4 separate regions of the Homo sapiens genome follow, and regions 1, 3 and 4 are each linked to region 2. The links are contacts of gene promoters, found by promoter capture Hi-C in human tissues and cell types (Jung and others, 2019). All regions are on one chromosome and are shown on one strand. The core of a region is centred on a gene start or on the middle of the fragment in contact, and the rest is flanking DNA. Distances in the headings are between cores, read along the strand shown.

Evidence for each region. Contacts are between HindIII fragments. The study calls those that stand out against the background at their distance.
Region 1: a contact is called between a fragment that was not itself captured here and the fragment with the promoter of LAMA1 in region 2, in 1 of the 25 tissues and cell types used here (IMR-90 fibroblasts).
Region 3: a contact is called between a fragment that was not itself captured here and the fragment with the promoter of LAMA1 in region 2, in 4 of the 25 tissues and cell types used here (H1 embryonic stem cells, bladder, ovary and 1 more).
Region 4: a fragment that was not itself captured here is called in contact with the fragment with the promoter of LAMA1 in region 2 in 1 of the 25 tissues and cell types used here (aorta).

What each region holds. Positions count from the first base shown.
Region 1 is chr18:7,158,807-7,161,506 of GRCh38, reverse strand. No RefSeq gene overlaps it. Among named protein-coding and RNA genes, the nearest start is that of LAMA1, 42 kb to the right of the region's middle. The HindIII fragment of the contact is 5,564 bases long and covers 1-2,700 here.
Region 2 is chr18:7,116,486-7,119,185 of GRCh38, reverse strand. LAMA1 (laminin subunit alpha 1) reads left to right here and starts at 1,389. Exons shown (of 63, transcript NM_005559.4): 1 at 1,389-1,526. The coding sequence starts at 1,466. The HindIII fragment of the contact is 17,081 bases long and covers 1-2,700 here.
Region 3 is chr18:7,063,794-7,066,493 of GRCh38, reverse strand. All of the region lies in intron 3 of LAMA1 (laminin subunit alpha 1), which reads left to right. Among named protein-coding and RNA genes, the nearest start is that of LAMA1, 53 kb to the left of the region's middle. The HindIII fragment of the contact is 4,804 bases long and covers 1-2,700 here.
Region 4 is chr18:7,177,185-7,179,884 of GRCh38, reverse strand. No RefSeq gene overlaps it. Among named protein-coding and RNA genes, the nearest start is that of LRRC30, 53 kb to the left of the region's middle. The HindIII fragment of the contact is 9,943 bases long and covers 1-2,700 here.

The sequences.
Region 1 (2,700 bases), core at 135-2,634, 42 kb before region 2:
TCGTATTCTGCTGCTAAAACACAATATACAGACTAGGTAATTTTATTTTTAAAAAGAGATCTGTTTGGCTCACAGAAGCTGGGACGTCCAAGACTGAAAGCTGCATCTGGCAAGGGCCTTCTTGCTGCATCCTAAGATGGCAGAAGGGCATCATGTGGTGAGAGACACTGAGAGAGAGGGAGAAAAAGTGGGCAGAACTCCCTAACTTATGAAAATCCCATTCCTGAGATAATGACATTAATTCCTTCGTGAGAGCAGAGCCCTTATCACCTAATCATCTCTCTAAGGTCCCATTTTTTTTTTTTTTTTTTTTGAGACGGAGTCTCACTCTGTCGCCCAGGCTGGAGTGCAGTGGTGCGATCTCCGCTCACTGCAAGCTCCGCCTCCCGGGTTCACAACATTCTCCTGCCTCAGCCTCCTGAGTAGCTGGGACTACAGGCACCCACCATCACACCCGGCTAAATTTTTTTGTATTTTTTAGTAGAGACGGGGTTTCACCGTGTTAGCCAGGATGGTTTTGATCTCCTGACCTCGTGACGCCCACCTCGGCCTCCCAAAATGCTGGGTTTACAGGCGTGAGCCACTGCCCCCGGCCTTTTTTTTTTTTTTTTTTTTTGAGATGAAGTCTCACTCTGTTGTCCAGGCTGGAGTGCAATGGCACGATCTTGGCTCACTACAACCTCTGCCTTCCAGGTTCAAGTGATTCTCCTGTCTCAGCCTCCTGAGTAGCTGGGATTACAGGCATGAGCCACCACACCCGGCTAATTTTTTGTATTTTGAGTAGAAATAGGGTTTCACCGTGTTGGCCAGGCTAGTCTCGAACTCCTGACCTCAAGTGATCCACCCGCCTCAGCCTCCCAAAGTGCATGGGCCACCACGCCGGGCCCAAAGAACAATATCTTCTATGTTATTTAAATAATGTCAAGACTAGACAGGAACAGCTTCCAGATGTGTGATGATAGCCCAATAAAACTAAAGACCAATCTTACATATGAATATTAAGGCCAAAGGAGCTAAATAAAGAATAAAGAATTATGGTAAATAATTCAGAATGCCATGACCAAGTGGTGGTTATGCCAGAAATGCAAAAAGAGAAAAATTATTAGAAAATACACTAATATATTTCACCATAATAATAGATAAAATGAGAAAAAGCATATGATATCTCTCTAGAGCAGCATGTCCAATAGGAAGATAAAGTGAACCACGTGGGTAATTTTAGATATTCTAGAAGCCACATTTCAAATAAGTAAAAAGCAACAGATAAAACAAATTTTAATGATATTTTATTTAACCCAATATATCTAAAATGTACTGTCCTAGCTCACCGCAATTCAGACACAAAATTTTCATTGGAAAAGCTTGATCTGCATTAAGATTTAGTGAAGTTTATGATACAAAAAAGTAGGTGTATATATCCAAGTTGCAAACATACTTGAGTTTTTCAGTAACTGAATTATCAGTCTTAAAATTTAGTTTAATTAAAATTAAATTAAAAATTCAGTTCCTCAATCACACTAGCCAAATTTCAAGTGTTTGTGAGCCAGCCACAGGAGGTAATGGTTACCTTATTGAACAGCACACTTCTAGATGACGAAAAAGAATTTGATAAAATCAGCATACATCCTTGAGTTTAAAATCTCTGTCTACCTCTCTGGGATTTCAAGCAGTTCTTTTTAGAGGCAACTAATGTTAACTGAGAGAAACCCTGAGGGAGACATCACTTGTATACTCCTTTTTTCCTTTTGAATTTGTATTAAGTTCATCATCTCACATCTCACAAATAAAGGGGGGAGGGGGGAGGGATAGCATTAGGAGAGATACCTAATGTAAATGACGAGTTAATGGGTGCAGCACACCAACATGGCACATGTATACACATGTAACAAACCTGCACGTTGTGCACATGTACCCTAGAACTTAAAGTATAATTTAAATATATATATATATATATATATATATATATATATATATATATATATAAACTAATCACTTTAAAATTTTTTTTGCTGGGTGTAGTGGCTCACACCTGTAATCCCAGCACTTTGGGAGGCTGAAGCAGGCGGATCATGAGGTCAAGAGATCGAGACCATCCTGGCCAACATGGTGAAACCCCATCTGTACTAAAAATACAAAAATTACCTGGGCATAGTGGCGTGTGCCTGTGGTCCCAGCTACTCAGGAGGCTGAGGCAGGAGAATTGCTTGAACCTGGGAGGCAGAGGTTGCAGTGAGCTGAGATTGTGCCACTGCACTCCAGCCTGGTGACAGAGTGAGACTCCCTCTCAAAAAAATAAAAAGAAAAAAAATTTTTTTTCATACAAAATTCTAACAAAACTTTTCATGAGTGTAAATGTCTTGGTAAAGAGTTTACTCTAGTGAGTGCAAATGTCCATGAGGTTTTTTCTGGGGGGGTGATAAAAATGTTTTAACATTATTGTAACAATGGTTGCATAACTAGTAAATTTACTATTAAAAGTCATTGAGTTGTACTCTTAAAAAATAAATGGATTTAATTGTATATAAATTATATCTCAATAAAGCTCTTAACATAAATAAGTTTACTCCATATATAGATTCATGTAGATAAAGCTATAACATATAGATATAGACATAGACACAAATACAGGTACAGACATAGAGAAAGTAACATAGAGATAATAACAAACATAACTTCCTGATTATCTATTATATATATATA
Region 2 (2,700 bases), core at 140-2,639:
TAAATACTAAGTTTACTTATTTAATAATTACTTAGTAACATTTTAATAGTTACGAACGTCTGCATTTTAAATTTAGTACTGTATGGAGTATTCACTGAACTATATTGCATCCTTTTAAAACGGCCAAACTATCATTTTGTTCCATGATTTTTAAAAATTAATCGATGGCTAAGTACTATAACTAAGTTCTACTCACTAGATGTGTAAGGAAGTGTCCTCAGAAAAACAGGAATTGATAGAGTTGTCAAATAGATTCACACAAGTGAGAGGAAATTATCTTCCTATCAAGAAAAAAAAACCCTGCAAAATAAGATGGTGGGATGATAATGAGATATTGTCCCTGTATATTTATATTGAGAAAATGTGAAATCTACAAAGTGTTATGAATACCTTTTTTTTCTTTTTTGAGACAGAGTCTCGCTCTGTCGCCCAGGCTGGAGTGCAGCTGGTGTGATCTCAGCTCACTGCAACCTCCCACTCCCGGGTTCAAGCAATTCTCCTGCCTCAGCCTCCCAAGTAGCTGGGACTGCAAGCGCGTGCCACCACACCCAGCTAATTTTTGTATGTTTTTAGTAGAGACGAGGTTTCACCATGATGGCCAGGCTGGTTTCGAACTCCTGACCTCAAGTGATCCACCCGCCTCGGCCTCCCAAAGTGCTGGAATTACAGGCGTGAGCCACTGCACCCATCCAATACTTTTGATAGAAAAAAAAAATCAGAGGAAATTAAAAATTCTTTATCGGGGACCAGACATAGTTTTAAAATAATAATAATTATAATAACAGCAGTTGAAGTTGCGTGTCAGGAGCGCGTCCTCTCTCTCCAGCAGTAAGGGTATCTAATTATAATAATTAAGTCCAAGTGACCTTGCCTTCTTTAGGCAAACAAAGTCGGGAACAAGTTGCAACTCATTTTCAGAAAAAATCCTCAAGTCCTCTGCCCACGGCGGAAAGGGCGGCGGGTCGGCCGAGCCTGGGTGGCTTCCCGAGGGGTCGCCTCTCGCCCAGCTCCTGGCAGGGGCGCGTGGGTCCTGGCCCGGGGACTGCAGGGCCGCGGCGGGGCGGGCAGGGTCAGCTGGGCACATAGTTTCTCGGAATCCACCCTCCCGGACCCCCGCAGCCCAGTTTCTCCTCCCCTCAGCCCACCTTCTCTGCCCACCTCCTACCCGGAGCCGGGGAGGCGGCCGCGGTCAGCCCGGCCTCCCCGACTTGGGGTCCGCGTGCGCCGGGACCCAGAGGCCAAGCTGGGCGCCCCCGGGGGAGGGGTCTGGGTGGCGGGGCCAAGCCGGGGCGGGACGGGGCGGGGCGGGGCGCAGCCGAGGGGTGTGTCCGAGGGCGGCTGGAGGGAGGGGCGGCAGGACTCCAGGAGCGGCGGGGCCAGGGCAGCGCGGACTCGCGTCCCGTGGAGCGTTCCAGGCGGGCGCGCGGCTTTCTCCCCAGACCCACCGAGTGGCGGCGGAGGCGAGATGCGCGGGGGCGTGCTCCTGGTCTTGCTGCTGTGTGTCGCCGCGCAGTGCCGGCAGAGAGGTGAGCCCGGCCCGGGTCCTAGGGTCCCTGTCCCCCGCAGGCGGGCGGGCGGGGGCGGCCGCGGACAAAGCCCGTCGCGTTGGGGCTGCTGGAGTCCGGGCGCGCATCCTGATCCACCTCGGAGTGGGTGTCTCGGCCACGTGGGTCTCCCGCGCTTGCCGGGGAGGGCTGGATGGGGACGCCGCTCCTGCCGGACGCTGCCCGCTCTTTGCAGGCTTAGGCTTTAACCTCCTCGGGCTTTGGGGTTAAAGCCCAGCCTCGCCTCTGGCTTTTGCGGGACTTCGCGACCCAGGAGCGCCATCTACGCGAGCAGTGCTGGGGGTGGCGGGAGCGGGGCGCCCGGAGCGGGGCGCCGGGGGTTGCTTTTAGTGCCCCGGCTGCGCGGGCGGGGGTGGCGGGGCTGTTGGCCGGGCGCGGGGGATGAATGGAGAAAGAGCTCTCCCGAGTCGCCCTCATTGTCCGGCTGCGCAAGCTGGGTCGCGGCGGCCGGGAAAGGGCGGATTCCTCGGGGCCCCTGGCAGCCAAGCGGGCTAGTGGGGAGAGACGCGGCGAGAAGGGCGCCCCTAGCCAGCCGTCCCGGGCAGGGGGACCCGCAGGCGGCGTCCAGGGCACTGATGCGCCTTCCCGACCCGCGCTTTTTGTGCAATAGGCGAAGTGGCCAAACCCGCTCATTCACTGCGCGGGATTGACCGTGGGCGCGCCGGGGCGAGGGACCAGCGGAGAAGGGAGCACCTTGCATGCGCGTTGCAAGGATTGAGAAGAGAAACTCAGAGCGAATTTTCATTTTCTGTTTTTGCGGGCGGGCGGAAAGAGAGAGAGAGAGAAGAAAGAAAGAGAGAGAGAAAGAGAAAAGAAAGAGAGAGAAAGAAAGAAAAAGAAAGAAAGAATTCTTTTCCCTTTTGGGGGACAACCCTAGTCACCCACGCCACCCCTAGAGCTGTCTTCGCAGCGTGGCTTCGTGTTGGCTAGGCAGTCACAAATATTTGTTGAAAACATCTTAATGTATGCAGCACATGACAATGGGCGTATTCCCACGAATATAAACTTCATTAAAAAAAAATTCGAGTCAAAAGTAGTGGGCGGAATTTGCAGTGCCCTCGTGGGAAACGTGTGTTTGGGCATTGTGCTGAGTTGTGAGCTCTGCAGAAACGCGACCATCTCATTCATTCAAGCA
Region 3 (2,700 bases), core at 155-2,654, 53 kb after region 2:
ATATCAATATTAGAGGCTGGACAGACTTTTCAAGTCATATTCTAACCAAAGAGAAAGAACCGATTTGACTCTAAGTCTCATTATTTTGAGAAGTTCCAGTTGTCACAAGAATAACTATGGAACATTGGAATATTGATTAAAAATCTGATACCTTACCTCTGTATTGTGCATTTTATAAAGTGCTTTCCTGTTCATTATTTCATCTTATGCTTACATGAAAAATCTGAAAAATGTGTCGATTTGTATCCACGTCATTCACGAATATGCACTGGGATGTAGAGAATACATCCTCTGGATTTGTCGTTTTAAGCCTAAATCATGGAAAACATTCAATGTAGTTTTAAAGTTCTCTAGGCTATAGGAAATTAAAAATATATTACTCACCTATCACTACCTTTTTCCAGGGGAATATGGGTGATTGTGGAATTCTGACTCTGAAAGCATTGGTTTTGGTGAGATGACCAGGCTGCCAAAGTGCACTGAAGGTAGAGACTTCTTAGTGACTGGGACAGCTGCCTGTTGATGCCGTGCACCTCCTCAGACCTGTGGTCTCTTTGCAATTTGTATGCAGGCACTTAGAAAGCACTGACTCGCTCTGGCCTGACTGTTTCGGAAATGAAGCTAGGAAAACTGTGAGGTCAAATTTAAACCTGCAAATAATTAGCTGGATGGCATAGCTGTACAAACTGAGATAGCCCGGGAAATTTGGTAAAGCTTTAAAACTATTATACTTATTCGCTTCTGTTCAGCCAACTGGGCTGATTTTTGAGACAGAGTCTCACTCTGTCACCCAAGCTGGAGTGCAACGGTGCGATCTCAGCTCACTGCAATCTCTGCCTCCTCCGTTCCAGCCATTCTTGTGCTTCGGCATCCCGAGTAGCTGGGACTACAGGTGCGTGCCACCACACCTGGCTAATTTTTGAATTTTTAGTAGAGATGAGGTTTTGCCATGCTGCCCAGGCTGGTCTCGAACTCCTGGCCTCAAGTGATAAGTGATTCACCTACCTTGGCCTCCCAAAGTGCTGGGATTACAGGTGTGAGCCACCATACCTGGCCAACATAAGCTTTCTTATCAGTTGAGAATTACTAGAATATGTGTAATTGTTTTCTTGTTTTAAAAAATAATAGACTATTTTTTAGAGAAGTTTTAGGTTTACAGAAAAATTGAATGTAAAGTACAGAGAATTCCCCCACACCCCTCTGTACAATAGTTTTTGGATCAAATTTTGGCTAGTCGTTGTTTTTTTTTTTTTTTTTTTTTGAGATAGAGTCTCACTCTGTCACCCAGGCTGGAGTGCAGTGGCGCAATCTCAGCTCACTGCAACCTCCGCCTCTCGAGTTCAAGTGATTCTCCTGCCTCAGCCTCCTGAGTAGCTGGGACTACAGGCACGTGCCACTATGCCTGGCTAATTTTTTGTATTTTTAGTAGAGACGAGGATTCACCCTGTTAGCCAGGATGGTCTTGATCTCCTGACCTTGTGATCCACCTGCCCCCCTCCCAAAGTGCTGGGATTACAGGCGTGAGCCACTGCGCCCGGCCTTGGCTATTCTTAATCACCCTTTTAAGAGCAAGTGACTGATCCAGTGCAGTTCAACAGTTTCTAAGACCTTTTCCTCCGTAGTATTTACAAGACGATCATGAGAATTGTCAATCATATAATTTAAGAATTTTTGCTTTTCCTACTATTTAATGGTATGTAATCAGAAGATATTTATCTGTGTTCTTCATATGAAGGAAGCACAAAAAAATGTCAGTTAAATAACCACTTAGTAGGTCTCTAGTGGGATGAACAATATTTAGAATCATTTACAACTTTATACCAGTCTTGTATCAGTCTTATAGACTGAGCCAGGCAAGAAATGGGGCTGCCCGAACTTGCTGTTCAGGAAATGCCACCAAGGAGAAAGCATTGTGTGAACAATGGGTCTTTCACTGTAAAGTCCTGAGTTTGGGGCTCTGGTTTTGTATTTTGTGAAGTATCATCATGCCTTGCCAGAGCTCAGTAAGAATGTGACCGAAATCAGGTCATGAGAAAGATAAGATTTCAAACATCCCCTCGGAGCTGTTTGCTTGACCTCCACTGACTTAATTGGTTTCTATGGAGTTGGCCCCTGCCTAGAAATACTACATTCCTACTCATTTTCAACTTAGACAGCTCAGTCTTTCACAAGGTTGAATCTTCATACCATTCACTTTTCATCTCTTTTTTTTTGGAGGGGGTGTTATTATAAAATATGCATATCATAAAATTTACCATTGTAACCTTTTTTTGTATTAAAAATGGCATATTCTCTATTTTGCATACTTTAATTTCAGAACAAAATAAACAAAAAAAAATCCACAATACACAACATCCAATCCTGCTGTCAGAGTAGGGAGGGAATGGGGGCTTGACACCCTTGTTTCCTGCCTTCAATACAAAGACAGGAGAGAAAAAAACACTAGACATCAGCAGGGGGAGCCAGGTGGGACAGGGGCACTTGAGGCTGCAGTGGGAGCCATTTTAACCATTTTTAAGTGTACAGTACAGTGGCATTAAGTATATTGTGCAACCGTCACCACCATCCATCCCCAGAACTTTTTCATCTTCCCAAACAGAAACTCTGTACCCCTTAAACACCAACTCCACGTTCCTCTCTTCCCCCAGCCCTGGGTAGCCTCCATTCAGCTTTTGTCTATGAATTTGATTACTCTGGGTA
Region 4 (2,700 bases), core at 45-2,544, 61 kb before region 2:
AAACCTTCTCCACAATCTTTTTTTTTAGACAAAGTCTCACTCTGTCACCAGGCTGGAATACAGTGGTGCGATCTCAGCTCACTGCAACCTCTGCCTCCCGGGTTAAAGTGATTCTCCTGCCTCAGCCTCTCGAGTAGCTGGGACCACAGGCATGCGCCACCACGCCCAGCTAATTTTTGCATTTTTAGTAGAGACAGGGTTTCACCATGTTGGCCAGGATGGTCTCGATCTCTTGACCTTGTGATCCGCCCACCTCAGCCTCCTGAAGTGCTAAGACTAAAGGCGTGAGCCACTGTGCCAGGCCATCAAATCTTTATTGACTTGATTTCTCCATACAACTTGTGTCTCTGAGTAATTTGGCCTTTGGGTCTCTTTCAGTTTAACTTTCAAAGTCTTCTGGGTATATTTTTTCTCTTGTCTCATATTAACTCAGAATTATGCAGAATAATTTTCCATTTAGATGAGTGAGGCAACTAGGAAAGGCAGTAATTGATGTCACAAATGTCTTCTAAGCCTGGTTCAGACTCAGAGAAAGTTTTGAAAAGAAAAATTGGATACGTTTTTCTTTTCTTGGCATTTCATCATTTTCCCCAAACGTATTAATGGCAGTTATTGAGCCATATTTATTAATTTCTCATGAAAATTAAGTTATAATGAGAGGTGACAGAGTGCTGGCAGTCCTCAGAGCCTTCGCTTGCTCTCGGCACCTCCTCTGCCTGGGCTCCCACTTTGGCGGCACTTGAGGAACCCTTCAGCCCACCGTTGCACTGTGGGAGCCCCTTTCTGGGCTGGCCAAGGCCAGAGCCGGCTCCCTCAGCTTGCAGGGAGGTGTGGCGGGAAAGGCGCGAGGGGGAACCAGGGCGGCGTGCGGCGCTCGCGGGCCAGCTGGAGTTCCGGGTGGGCGTGGGCTTGGCGGGCCCCACACTCGGAGCAGCCAGCCGGCCCTGCTGGCCCCGGGCAATGAGGGACTTAGCACCCGGGCCAGTGGCTGCGGAGGGTGCACTGGGTCCCCCAGCAGTGCCGGCCCACTGGCACTGCGCTTGATTTCTCACTGGGCCTTAGCTGCCTTCCCGCGGGGCAGGGCTCGGACCTGCAGCCCGCCATGCCTGAGCCTCCCACCCACTCCATGGGCTCCTGTGCGGCCCGAGCCTCCCCGACGAGCGCCTCCCCCTGCTCCACGGTGCCCAGTCCCATCGACTGCCCAAGGGCTGAGGAGTGCGAGTGCATGGCACAGGACTGGCAGGCAGCTCCACCTGTGGCCCCGGTGGGGGATCCACTGGTTGAAGTCAGCTGGGCTCCTGAGTCTGGTGGGGACGTGGAGAGTCTTTATGTCTAGCTCAGGGATTGTAAACACACCAATCAGCACCCCATGTCTAGCTCAGGGTTTGTGAGTGCACCAATCGACACTCTGTATCTAGCTGCTCTGGTGGGCCCTTGGAGAACCTTTATGTCTAGCTCAGGGATTGTAAATACACCAATCGGCACTCTGTATCTAGCTCAAGGTTTGTAAACACACCAATCAGCACCCTGTGTTTAGCTCAAGGTTTGTGAGTGCACCAATTGACACTCTGTATCTAGCTGCTCTGGTGGGGCCTTGGAGAACCTTCGTGTGGATACTCTGTATCTAACTAATCTGATGGGGAGGTGGAGAACCTTTGTATCTAGCTCAGGGATTGTAAATGCACCAATCAGCACCCTGTCAAAACAGACCACTGGGCTCTACCAATCAGCAGGATGTGGGTGGGGCCAGATAAGAGAATAAAAGCAGGCTGCCCGAGCCAACAGTGGCAACCCACTCGGGTCCTCTTCCACACTGTGGAAGCTTTGTTCTTTCACTCTTTGCAATAAATCTTGCTACTGCTCACTCTTTGGGTCCACACTGCCTTTATGAGCTGTAACACTCACCACAAAGGTCTGCAGCTTCACTCCTGAAGCCAGCGAGACCACGAGCCCAGAGCCCACCGGGAAGAACGAACAACTCCAGATGCGCCGCCTTAAGAGCTGTAACACTCACTACCAAGGTCTGCAGCTTCACTCCTGAGCCAGCGAGACCACAAACCCACCAGAAGGAAGAAACTCCGAACATCAGAAGGAACAAACTCCAGACGCGCCACCTTAAGAGCTGTAACACTCACCGCGAGGGTCCGCAGCTTCATTCTTGAAGTCAGTGAGATCAAGAACCCACCAATTCCGGACACAATAATATTTTGTTCTTACCAGTAGTCTAGCAAAATAAGCTATTCTTTTAATAAACCCTGGAGATTATATTTTGATGTTGAGTGAGTGTTTTAAGATAATTAGATTCACTTTTATCTGTGTTTATTCAGATTTCATTATTTAAATGTATGCATGATAGTATAAAGTCTTTCAGTTACAAAAAGAATAACCAATATGTTATGTAACTTCTTCCTAATTGATAATTAATATTTTCACCTACAGTTTTTTATTCTGCCTGTAAAAATCTGCAATAAAATGAGGTTTAAATCTGAATTTGTGCTCCCTTCACAGGGTTCCTGTTAGCTAGTGTGAGCAGGTACTACCCCCATTATGTCGCTAAGGGGAGCTGTTGGTCCTTCATTACTCAGTAAACCAGTGCTGGCCTCTGCCTGGTCTGTGAAGCTACTTTCTGATTAGGAGTGGTTCATTATCATTTCATACTTGGCACAATTATGAAAGAACTCTGTAAGCGCTTATTCAGAG